Regions from separate parts of the Homo sapiens genome. Here all the other regions are linked to region 2. The links are contacts of gene promoters, found by promoter capture Hi-C in blood cells and fetal thymus (Javierre and others, 2016). All regions are on one chromosome and are shown on one strand. Each heading gives the region's core, a stretch centred on a gene start or on the middle of the fragment in contact. The rest is flanking DNA. Distances are from core to core; before and after follow the strand shown. Region 1 has its middle 13 kb from the start of COG6. Region 2 holds the start of STOML3 (stomatin like 3). Region 3 has its middle 20 kb from the start of LHFPL6. Region 4 overlaps LHFPL6 (LHFPL tetraspan subfamily member 6).

What was found. Contacts are between HindIII fragments. The CHiCAGO score rates a contact against its expected background, and 5 or more counts as called.
Region 1: a fragment that was not itself captured here is called in contact with the fragment with the promoter of STOML3 in region 2 in 1 of 17 cell types (total CD4 T cells); the score reaches 6.5 in total CD4 T cells.
Region 3: a fragment that was not itself captured here is called in contact with the fragment with the promoter of STOML3 in region 2 in 4 of 17 cell types (non-activated CD4 T cells, total CD4 T cells, activated CD4 T cells and 1 more); the score reaches 6.2 in non-activated CD4 T cells.
Region 4: a contact is called between a fragment that was not itself captured here and the fragment with the promoter of STOML3 in region 2, in 1 of 17 cell types (non-activated CD4 T cells). The highest score is 5.8, in non-activated CD4 T cells.

What each region holds. Positions count from the first base shown.
Region 1 is chr13:39,641,560-39,644,259 of GRCh38, reverse strand. No RefSeq gene overlaps it. Among named protein-coding and RNA genes, the nearest start is that of COG6, 13 kb to the left of the region's middle. The HindIII fragment of the contact is 179 bases long and covers 1,183-1,361 here.
Region 2 is chr13:38,989,440-38,992,139 of GRCh38, reverse strand. It overlaps STOML3 (stomatin like 3), which reads left to right and starts at 1,309. Exons shown (of 7, transcript NM_145286.3): 1 at 1,309-1,470. The coding sequence starts at 1,419. The HindIII fragment of the contact is 645 bases long and covers 761-1,405 here.
Region 3 is chr13:39,622,075-39,624,774 of GRCh38, reverse strand. No RefSeq gene overlaps it. Among named protein-coding and RNA genes, the nearest start is that of LHFPL6, 20 kb to the right of the region's middle. The HindIII fragment of the contact is 8,597 bases long and covers 1-2,700 here.
Region 4 is chr13:39,570,274-39,572,973 of GRCh38, reverse strand. The region is part of intron 2 of LHFPL6 (LHFPL tetraspan subfamily member 6); the gene reads left to right. Among named protein-coding and RNA genes, the nearest start is that of LHFPL6, 32 kb to the left of the region's middle. RefSeq lists enhancers at 667-1,233, 1,234-1,801. The HindIII fragment of the contact is 1,103 bases long and covers 814-1,916 here.

The DNA.
Region 1 (2,700 bases), core at 23-2,522, 650 kb before region 2:
CTCCTAGGCTCAAGCTATTCATCTGCCAAAGTGCTGGGATTACAGGTGTGAGCCACCGCACCTGGTCTCTTCTATTTTAAATGAAGCTGAAAACATAGCATTTCAGGTACATTCTTAAACAGGCCTAAAAATTTTAATGGTTGAGATACAGTGAAAATAAAAATATTTTCAATGATTTTTTTTTACTTATTAATGTTTCAAAAAACTTTTTGGCTTTCTAAATTTTTATCATTAATATTATAATGTGCACATAATATATGTATTAAATATTTTATAGTCATATAATTTTTATATATCTATTCGTATTTAAACCTATGTATATGCTTTGTTGTATGTATGTTTTTAAAAGCCTTTGTTTAATACTTTGTGATACAGCAACGGAAAGTAGCTATTCTAGTTTCAAGTTGAACACTAACATGGCAAAAAACAGAGAAAGAAACGTCTCAACATTTCACAAAGTCACAATATATATTACTGAATACTACTTATAAGAAGGTTCACCTAAATAAAATTGCATCTATAGCCATATTTCATTGTCACTTTTAGAATAGTATTTCTTGTCAGACCTCATCCGATTAGCACTGTTTTTTTCTTGTAATGTGGGTGTTGAATATCTTGTACTTGGAATCAAAGGAAGGTCAGCTGTACCATATTTTATTTGTAATTGTATTATGAGTATTATTTTCTTTTCTTTTCTTTTTTTTTTTTTTTTTTTTTTTTTTTTTGAGATGGAGTCTCACTCTGTGGCCCAGGCTGGACCAGGCTGGAGTGTAATGGTGTGATCTTGGCTCACTGCAACCTCCGCCTCCCAGGCTCAAGCCATTCTTCTGCCTCAGCCTCCTGAGTCGCTAGGATTACAGGTGCGCGCCACTACACCCGGCTGATTTTTCTATTTTCAATAGAGACGGGGTTTCACCATGTTTGTCAGGCTGGTCTCGAAATCCTGACCTTGTGATCAGCCTGTCTCAGCCTCCCAAAGTGCTGGGATTACAGACGTGAGCCACCGCACCCGACCTTGAGTATTATTTTCAATCTGTGGCTTCTCTAAAGGAATCTCTTTAAATCTATCTGTAATTTTGTAAAGACGAATTTAGTTAAAATTAGATGACATAATCTATAATGCCAACTAACTGGGTCCCTCATAACCTGAAAACTCAATGAAAGGCAACAAAAAGTGAAGCTTCCCCTCAACCTCTCAGCATTATGGAGCTTCCACGGTACCCTCAGGAAGCCTCCTCTACTGTACATGAAATGCAACATGTGACCTTGAAATGTAGACAGTGAAGGCATTCAACCAATAGAGTACATTTCATACTGCTTTTTTTACCTTTAAGATTAAAAATTAAAGCTCAGCAGAAGCTTTGACATCTTCTCACACCCCCATGCATTCTCTTACCTACATCCTGGAGTTTATGCTCCACTTTGGAGGACATTAGTGTAGAGAATCGAATCCACACTGCTTTCTCTGGCTTCCAGGTGCTCTATAACTTGACCTCAACCAACCCCAGCACGGCCTATATTTCACTCTCACTGCTGCCCTATGTTTAGTTTCTACTATACTCCAAGAGTTTTAATCCTGTTTCTTAACATGCCCAGTGCTTGCCCTCCTCACCATGCTCATGCCTTCTCTTCTGCCTGCAATGTTCTGCCCCTGTTACCCCTGTATCACCACCTACCAGGTTTCTCCTTCATTAAACCTCCTTCCGTCTGGGGTATCATTTTTTTTTAACCTCATCTGAACAAAGATTCATAGAATTGAAAAGTTCTCTTTGACATCTGAGGTAGAAATAATTATGCACATGTATTATCTCTTCTATGAGTAGATTATAAACATAAGGTGCCCTTAAGAAGGGGCACCAGAGGCTGGGCATGGTGGCTCATGCCTATAATCCCAGCACTTTGGGAGGCTGAGGTGGGCAGAATACAAATTCAAGAGATGGAGACCATCCTGACCAATATGGTGAAACCCCATCTCTACTAAAAATATAAAAATTAGCTGGGCATGGTGGCACGCACCTGTAGTCCCAGCTACTCAGGGGGCTGAGGCAGAAGAATCGCTTGAACCCGGGAGGCGGAGGTTGCAGTGAGCTGAGATCGCACCACTGCACTCCAGGCTGGCGACAGAGCGAGACTCCATCTAAAAAAATAATAATAAAATAAAATTTAAAAAAAGGGGCACCAGGTCTCATTAATTTTTCTGTTCTCAACAATTACCCTGCACACTTTTTGGCATATAGCAGATATCCATTTGGAAGCAGTATGATAAAATGAAAATATATGGTTTTAGAATGAGAGATACCTAATTCATGGACAAAAGATTAACATAATTGTGAAAACTTTGGAAAAGAAGAACTTTCTATCATTTAGAGCTGTCCAACAAGAGGGTGGTCATACATTCACTCTCACTAGAGGAAGTGAAGCAAGGGCCAGCTGACAAACCTAGAGATGTTAAGGAAGAGACTTCTCCATTTGGTGGAAGATCAAACTGAAGTTCCTTTCAACAGCAGGAATCTATGGTTTGGAGCAGAAAGAAATGCCACATTTCTAAAGGTTACTTCCAAGTAGAATGGTGTTACATTTTATAGTCGCCTGTTGTGTCTCAATTATATTATATAATTGTAATATACCATCTCAGATGTTATTATTGACTAACATATGTACAAAATACCGTTTAAAAAATGAAAAGTGATCTTAGATTTT
Region 2 (2,700 bases), core at 60-2,559:
ATTTATATATTCATTCATTCAGCAAGTATTGTTGAACATCAATCATGTGCCCACGTTGTTCTAATTGTTGCAGATGCAATGGAAATGTTAGACCAAGTCACTCTCCTCATGGAAATGTATAGTGCAAGGCAGGGGTCAGCAAACTTTTTTTGTGAAGGGACAAACAGTAAATATTTTAGGCCTTACAGCTTGTATGGTCTGTGTCACAACTACTCAAATCCACGGGTGCAGTGCAAAAGTGAGCACAGACAATACAAAAATGAAAGAGCTGGGCATGGTGGCTCATATCTACAATCCCAGCAGTTTGGGAGACCAAGGCTGAAGGATCATTTGAGCCCAGAGTTTGAGACCAGCCTGGGCAATATAGTGAGGCCCCATCTCTAAAAAAAAAAAAAATTAAAAATTAGCCAGGTATGGTGGTGTGCACCTGGAGTCCCAGCTGTTGAAGAGGCTGAGGTAGGAAGATTGCTTGAGCCTGGCAGGTCGAGATTGCAGTGAGCTGTGATTGTGCCACTGCACTCCAGCCTGGGCAACAGAGTGAAATCCTATCTCAAAAAAAAAAAAAAAAAAAAGAAAGCAACAAAAGGACATACTGTGTTCCAATAACACTTTATGTTTTAAAAACAAGTGGTAAATTAAATTTAGCTGGCAAGCTAAAGTTTGTCAATTCTTGGTCTAGAAGAAGAAACAGACACAAGCCAAAAAATTATGCATATGATAACACGTGCAAAGATCCGGTGGCGAGAAGACATATCAAGCTTTGGAGGCACTGATAGGAGACCAATGGAGCTGCTTCACGGAGAGACACATGAGTGAGGCTGGAAAGGGAGGAAGGGGCAGGCCAGCAGGGTCTTGTAGGACACTTAGGAGTTTGGTCTTTACAATATTGACAGTTGGCAATTTTTTGATTATTTTAAGCAGGATGAAGACATGATCAGATTTGAGTTTCAAAAGCTCACTCACTGCAGTGTTAGAATGAGTTGGGTTAAATTTTCTCATCTGAAACATAAGGATGGATACACTTGCCCTGTGTATTGAACAGGTCATTGTGTAATCAGTGATCACACAAGATTTATACAAGGTGCATAGAAGTGTTTTATGAAATATAAATGCTATAGAAAATTACACAGCAATATTTTACAGGAAGCAATACCACCAGATGGTCATATTCTTTCAAGTTTTTTCTGTGAACAAAGGCAGTCTGAACTCATAAAAGAAATCTTTTTGTTTATGTTATCAGGCTTCCCTCACCAGGGTAACTACCCCTTAGGGAGTTCACTAAAGAGAAGGAATGTCTTTCACTCTCTCATACTTTCTCCTCTCCCCTCTCCCAAGCACATCTGAGTTGCTGCCTGTTCTTCACACTTAGCTCCAAACCCATGAAAAATTGCCAAGTATAAAAGCTTCTCAAGAATGAGATGGATTCTAGGGTGTCTTCACCTGAGAAGCAAGATAAAGAGAATTTCGTGGGTAAGTTCCTTTTTCCTGTCTTAGGCTTGTTTTTTACATATATGGCAAAGCAGGAGTTGTAGCATTATAGACAGGTATAGAGTAAGTATGAGATATATTTGCAGAAATCGGCCTCAATTTCATTTATAGCCCAGGATTTTGAATTCATTGCTTATGCTGATTTCATTTGCTTCTTGAACGGCAGTCTATAACTTGCTTTATTTTTCCTTCAATTTTAGATAAAGTTGGTGTTTATCTTTGAATTTCTTCTTTCTGTATGAAATCCTTCTCAGGATTTTGAATTCATTGCTTATGCTGATTTCATTTGCTTCTTGAACAGCAGTCTATAACTTGCTTTATTTTTCATTCAATTTTAGATAGAATTGGTGTTTATCTTTGTATTTCTTCTTTTTGTATTAAATAACAAAGATATGTTGAAGAGGCTGACTTTTCTCCAACTTCAAACATTTTCTGATGATGCTGAGATTAAAAAGAAAAGTTGGTTTGAGCTGTATCCTGTTTGATAAATGGAGAGAAGTTGAGAAAAAAAACTTAGCTTATAAGTACCAACTACTATCATTAATACTAATGACTATTATGTGTTACAAAGCATTTTGCTTGCATTATCTCTTTCAATTTTACAATAATTCTGAGGTAGATCCTCTTAGAATCTCATTTTACAAATGAGAAAACTGAGCATTGGAAAGTTTAAAAAGTTGTTCAGAAAGTGATTATGATGATGGTGTGCGTGTGTGTGTGTGTGATGATGGTGTGAGTGTGCGTGTGTGTATGACCTAACCTGTGCTCTGTACCTTATGTTGCCAAAAAAGCCATAGTACATGTTAGAAATAGAGAACACGTTTGGCATTACTAATACATAAAAGAAAAAACTAGGCTGCATGCACTGGTGCATGCCCTGTAATCGCAGCACTTTGGAAGGCCAAGGCAGGCAGATCACTTGAGCTCAGGAGTTCGAGACCAGCCTGGGCAAAATGGCAAAAACTCATCTCTACAAAAAATACAAAATTTAGCCAGGTGTGGTGGCACATGCCTGTGGCTAAGTGGGAGGTTGAGGTGGGAGGATTGCTTGAGCCCAGGAGGTTTAGGCTTCAGTGAGCTGAGATTGCACCACTGTACTCCAGCCTGGGTGACAGAGTGAGACCCTGCCTAACAAAGAAAAAAAAATGGAATAAAGAAAGAAAAAAGAAAAAGTATACATTTAGAGACATTTACCTGAATTGGAAAAGAAAC
Region 3 (2,700 bases), core at 92-2,591, 630 kb before region 2:
AAGGAAAGGAGAGGTGGGACAGTCAGTCATTTTATATGCAGTAAAAATATAAATGTATAGTTCTAATATTTATGCCCCCTCCACCCCCAACATAAAAAAACAAAGGAAACAGTGAAAAGTGTTACTCAAATACAGAGGTTATAGGAGTATACTTTCAGTAGGCAGGGGAGAACCAAGGAAGAAGGACTCGCAAAGTAATTCTTGAACTGAGCCTTAAAGGATAAGGATTTTCCTTGGCAGAGAGAAATTTATTACTTCATGATGAAGTCTGGGAATAAATATTAGAACTTTGATTTTATTCTTTCCCACTTCAATATTTTTCTAATAGCATTCATTACTGTTCTCTCAAAGTGATAGGCCAGGATAATATGGATCCAGTAAATCCAACAGTCTTATATTATAGAGTCAGTCATTCCTAGTAGAATCACTTCTATTAGAATTTTTTGAAAGCATCAAACCTTTATTTGTTATCTTGTTGGACATTTAGTTGTTTTCAATTTTGTTTTTACTAACAATTATGTATATCTTCTTTATATACGTTCATTTTTGTGAGGTCTATGTCTGGGAGTGGAGTTGCTAGGGGAAATAACACACCCATCTTCAAGTTTACTAGCTATTGTAAAAACTATTATGCAAAGTATGGCACCAATTTATTCTAACTAAACAATTAAGAATCCTCATTGTACCACACTATCTCCAATGATTGATATTGTCAGGCTTTCTCATTTTTGAGAGTTTCATAGTTATAAAATGGTATTTCTTTGATATTATAACTAGTACTTCCTTAATTACTAATGAAATACCCATCTTTTCATGTCTACTGGCATTTGGCTTTCTACTTCTGGGAACTGCTTATTCTTTTGCCCATGAGGTTTTGTTTTGTTTTCTTTTCTTTTTCTTTTAGTTTATTTGTACACATTATTTATGTATTCTGGATACAAATTCTTGTTGGTTATATATCTTTTCTCAGCCTGTGGCCCATATTTTTACCCTTTATGGTGAACAAAAAATGTTTATTTGAATTTAACGTAGTTTCTCTCTAGAAATATAAGCTCTTGGACAGAAGGGCTTTTGGTCTCTTTTGTTCAATGATGTATCCTAAGTGCCTAGGGCAGTGTGTGATAAGTGTCAGATGTTTAAAATATTTGTTGAATGAATGAATGGAAGGAAGATTACTCATCTTGTCTCTTACATGATGGCATTTTGATGGGAATTGTATTGAATTTGTAGATTGCTTTTGGCAGTATGGTCATTTTCACAATACTGATCCTACCCATCTATGAGCATAGGATGTGTTTCCATTTGTTTGTGCCATCTCTGATTTCTTTCAGCAGCGTTTTGCAGTTTTCATTGTAGAGATCTGTCACCTCCTTGGTTAGCTATATTCCTAAGTATTTCATTTTTTTGGCAGCTGTTGCAAAAGGGTTGAGTTCTTGATTTGATTCTCAGCTTGGTCATTGCTGGTGTGTAGCAGTGCTACTGATTTGTGTACATTGATTTTGCATCCTGAAACATTACTAAATTCATTTATCAGATTTAGGAACTTTTCGGAAGAGTCTTTAGGGTTTTCTAGGTATACAATGGTATCACCAGCCAACAGCGACAGTTTGACTTCCTCCTTACCAATTTGGATGTTCTGATTTATTTCCCTTGTCTGATTGCTCTGGCTAGGGCTTCCAGTACAATGTTGAATAGCAGTGGTGAAAGTGAGCATCCTTGTCTCGTTCCAGTTCTCAGAGGGAATGCTTTCAACTTTTCCCCACTTAGTATAATGTTGGCTGTGGTTGTGTCATAGATCGCTTTTATTACCTTGAGGCAGGTCCCTTCTATGCTGATTTTGCTGATCACAAAATGATGCTGGCTTTTGTCCAGTGCTTTTTCTGCATCTATTGAGATGATCATAAGTTTTTTGTTTTCAATTCTGTTTATGTGGTGTATCACATTTGTGGTCTTCCATGTGTCAAACCATCCCTGCATCCCTGGAATGACACCCACTTGATCATGGTGTATTATCTTTTTGATATGCTGTTGAATTCAGTTAACTAGTATTCTGTTGAGGATTTTTGCATCTGTGTTCATCAGGGATATTGGTCTGTAGTTTTCTTTTTTGGTTATGTCCCTTCCTGGTCTTGTTATTAGGGTGATATTGGCTTCATAGAATGATTTACAGATGATTCCCTCTTTCTCTATCTTTTGGAATAGTTTCAGTAAGGTTGGTACCAATTTTTTGAATAGAACTCATCTGTGAATCCAGATTTTTTTTTTGTCCACAATTTTTAAATTACTGTTTTAGTCTTGCTACTTATGATTGGTCTGTTCAGACTTTCTATTTCTTTCTGATTTAATCAAGGAGGGTTGTATATTTCCAGGAATTTATGCATCTCCTTTAGATTTTCTAGTTTGTGTAGATAAAGGTGTTTATAGTAACCTTGAATGATCTTTTGTTATTTCTGTGGTATCAGTTGTAATATCTCCCGTTTTATTCCTAATTGAGCTCACTTGTATCTTGTCTCTTCTTTTCTTGGTTAATATCACTAATAGTCTATCTTTTTTTAATCTTTTCAAAGAACCAGCTTTTAATTTCATTTATTTATTTATTTATTTATTTATTTATTTAATTTATTTATTTGCTGTTTCAATTTCATTTAGTTCTGCTCTGATCTTTGTTATCTCTTTGCTTCTGCTGGGTTTGGGTTTGGT
Region 4 (2,700 bases), core at 116-2,615, 580 kb before region 2:
GTATCTCACCTTTAACCTCAATAACATTATTCATTACTTTCCTATGAATTCTGATCCCCTTGCCCTCAGCCTTGTGACCCAAAGACCATGTGACTGGCTGACTTGGAGGAGAAGCTAATGGTCATTGACTGGTATTTCACAAATCCAGAATCCTTCCACTTAGGAGAAAGATGGCTTTTTCTACCAGTTTTTGATGGCTTGGGTATGCAAACTCAGAAGGTTAAGATCTGGCTATTTGTGCAACAGCTGAGTCTTAAAGTGGAAGGTGACGATTAAAGGAAATAGAGGACAGGAGAGGCAGGCAGCAAGAGTGGAGGAGACACAGAACCGCCAACACATTTTAGTTATGAGCAGAAGGAAGATAGGTGGCCAAGCCTACTTTGCGTAGAAAATTGGACTGTGGTGTGTTTTCCTTTTCAAAAGCTGTAACAATTAGGGATAAAGCTTTTACTTCTTAAAGAGAGGTTTTTGAGTAATAGGAGATGGATGTACTGTATAATACCCTTTATTGAGAATCGGACTGGAACCTCTGAATTATGGCTTTATACATATATTCATAGAAGATCTATGTCTGGGCCCTGCATTTGTGTACGTGTATATGTTTCTGGAAAGAGGTCTCAGACTGATTCTCACTGGGGACTGTCACACACACACACACACACACACACACACACACACACACACAGAGTTTAAAAAATATACTACCACGGCTCTGAGCCATAAATGACTAACTCTTTAGATTTTTCTATCTTAAATGCTTTATTTTATATTTGATTGTATGCAATATTAGGTGTCTTTATTTTTATGAAAGCTTACTACGTTGCTATCTGATTGCTACTTATGTAGGACACAAGTACAATTCTAGGAGATTCTTGTCCTGTGATACAGTATCCTTGGCCAGTTCATGTCCTTTGCCCCTGATTTAATTGTCACATTTATAACCTTGGACATATTGATGCAGGATTTTTCTCAGCCCCTTCACCAACTCACGGCAGGGGAGCCCCCTCTACTTGGCTCGTCACACTCAACCCCTTGCAGGAGGCAGCACATGAGCAAGCGAGCGTAGGATCCGGCCAGCCACTCTGGGTGCTGACACAGAAGCAAGCTCCATGCAGGGCCCGTGGCCAGACCAGGCATGTCACCTTGAGGGGAATGTGGTGGCGCCCCTGTGAGGGTGCCCATGACCCCAAAGCCCCAGAGAGGATGTTACAGTGCTCCTTAAATTCCACTGTCCACGGACAGCGGTGTGTTAGCAGCTCAGTTGGCCTCTTGCCTTGTTGTGTGGGGTGGCTGCCCTCCGCCGTCAAGGGCAAAGGGCCGGTGTGACAGCCTTACTGGATACCCGCAATCAGTGGGTCCCGAGCTCTTGTCCGGCATCCAGGAAGAATGAGGTCACACAGATAGTTGAAGGATGGTGAAGGTGGGTAGTTTTATTGAGTGATGAAAACAGTTCTCAGCTGGAGAGGGGAAGAGAAGGGCAGGTCATCTTCCCTGATGTCAGGCTGTCACCTCCCTGAAGTCAGGTCGTCTCCTCCTCTACTGACTGAGTCTGGGGTCTTTATAGGCAAAAGGTTGAGGCAAAGACACCACTCAAAGTTGGATATGACGGTGTAGAAGACCAATTAGGAAAGGGTAGGGATATGTAAAATAGGTGAAGGGTGGGGATCAATAAGAGGAAAGCGCATCGAACAGGAAGACAAGTTCTCAATCTGGTCGGAGGATTTAACTTGTAGCTTGGCTTTCAGGCTTTAAACTGTCTTTGGCTTGGAGGTGGGGTTTCACCAGGGACCTGCCCTATCTGTCTAGGCATTTGGCTGCCTCCTATCATTATCAATATGTGGTCACAAACATTTATTGAAATAAAGCCTGATTTGTGGTTTGAGGCATCTTTCAGCATTTCCTAAAAAGAATAAGCTTGCCTAAAATCTGAACTACATGAAGTGGTTAGTTTATTGTTGTTTTTCACACTTTCAATCTAGTAGTGGTTAGATTAATGGAAATTAAGGATTCTCGCTTACTGAATCTGACTGGATGGGGAGATAAAGAATGTTATCCATGGGTAAAAGAAATTACAGGGTTCTTCTTACTTTGAACATTCATCTTCAAGAAATAGCCTCATTTGCTTTAGGCTTTTGCCTTAAATATTTAGGAGAAAAACACACACGTGGCATGCCCATGCACACACACACATTCACTCACACGCACTCACATGCACACACTGTTGCCCCATACTGACCGTTGATAGTGTTAATACTTAAAGTACAACTATTTTATATCTACCAGAGCTATAATCATGATTAAATCATTGTTGCTGCAAATGGTAATTGCATGGCAATCTTCTTACTTAGTTCTTTGATTATCATTCTATATATCATTCTAATATATACATTATATATTGTATTATATAAGATTATCATTTTATTTTATATTATTATTCTATTATATATTACTCTATTATTTTACTCCCACATCCTCTTTTCTTGCCATGTTTTTAATGAATCCTTCTGGATATTTAAAAATTACATAAATTAGCCAGGCGTGGTGGCTTATGCCTGTAATCTCAGCACTTTGGGACAGCAAGGCTGGAAGATGCTTGAGCCCAGGAGTTTGAGACCAACCTGGCCAACATAGTGAGACCCTGTCTCTACTAAAGATGTAAAGATTTTAAAATTTAAAGTGATGGCTCACTTCTATAGTCCT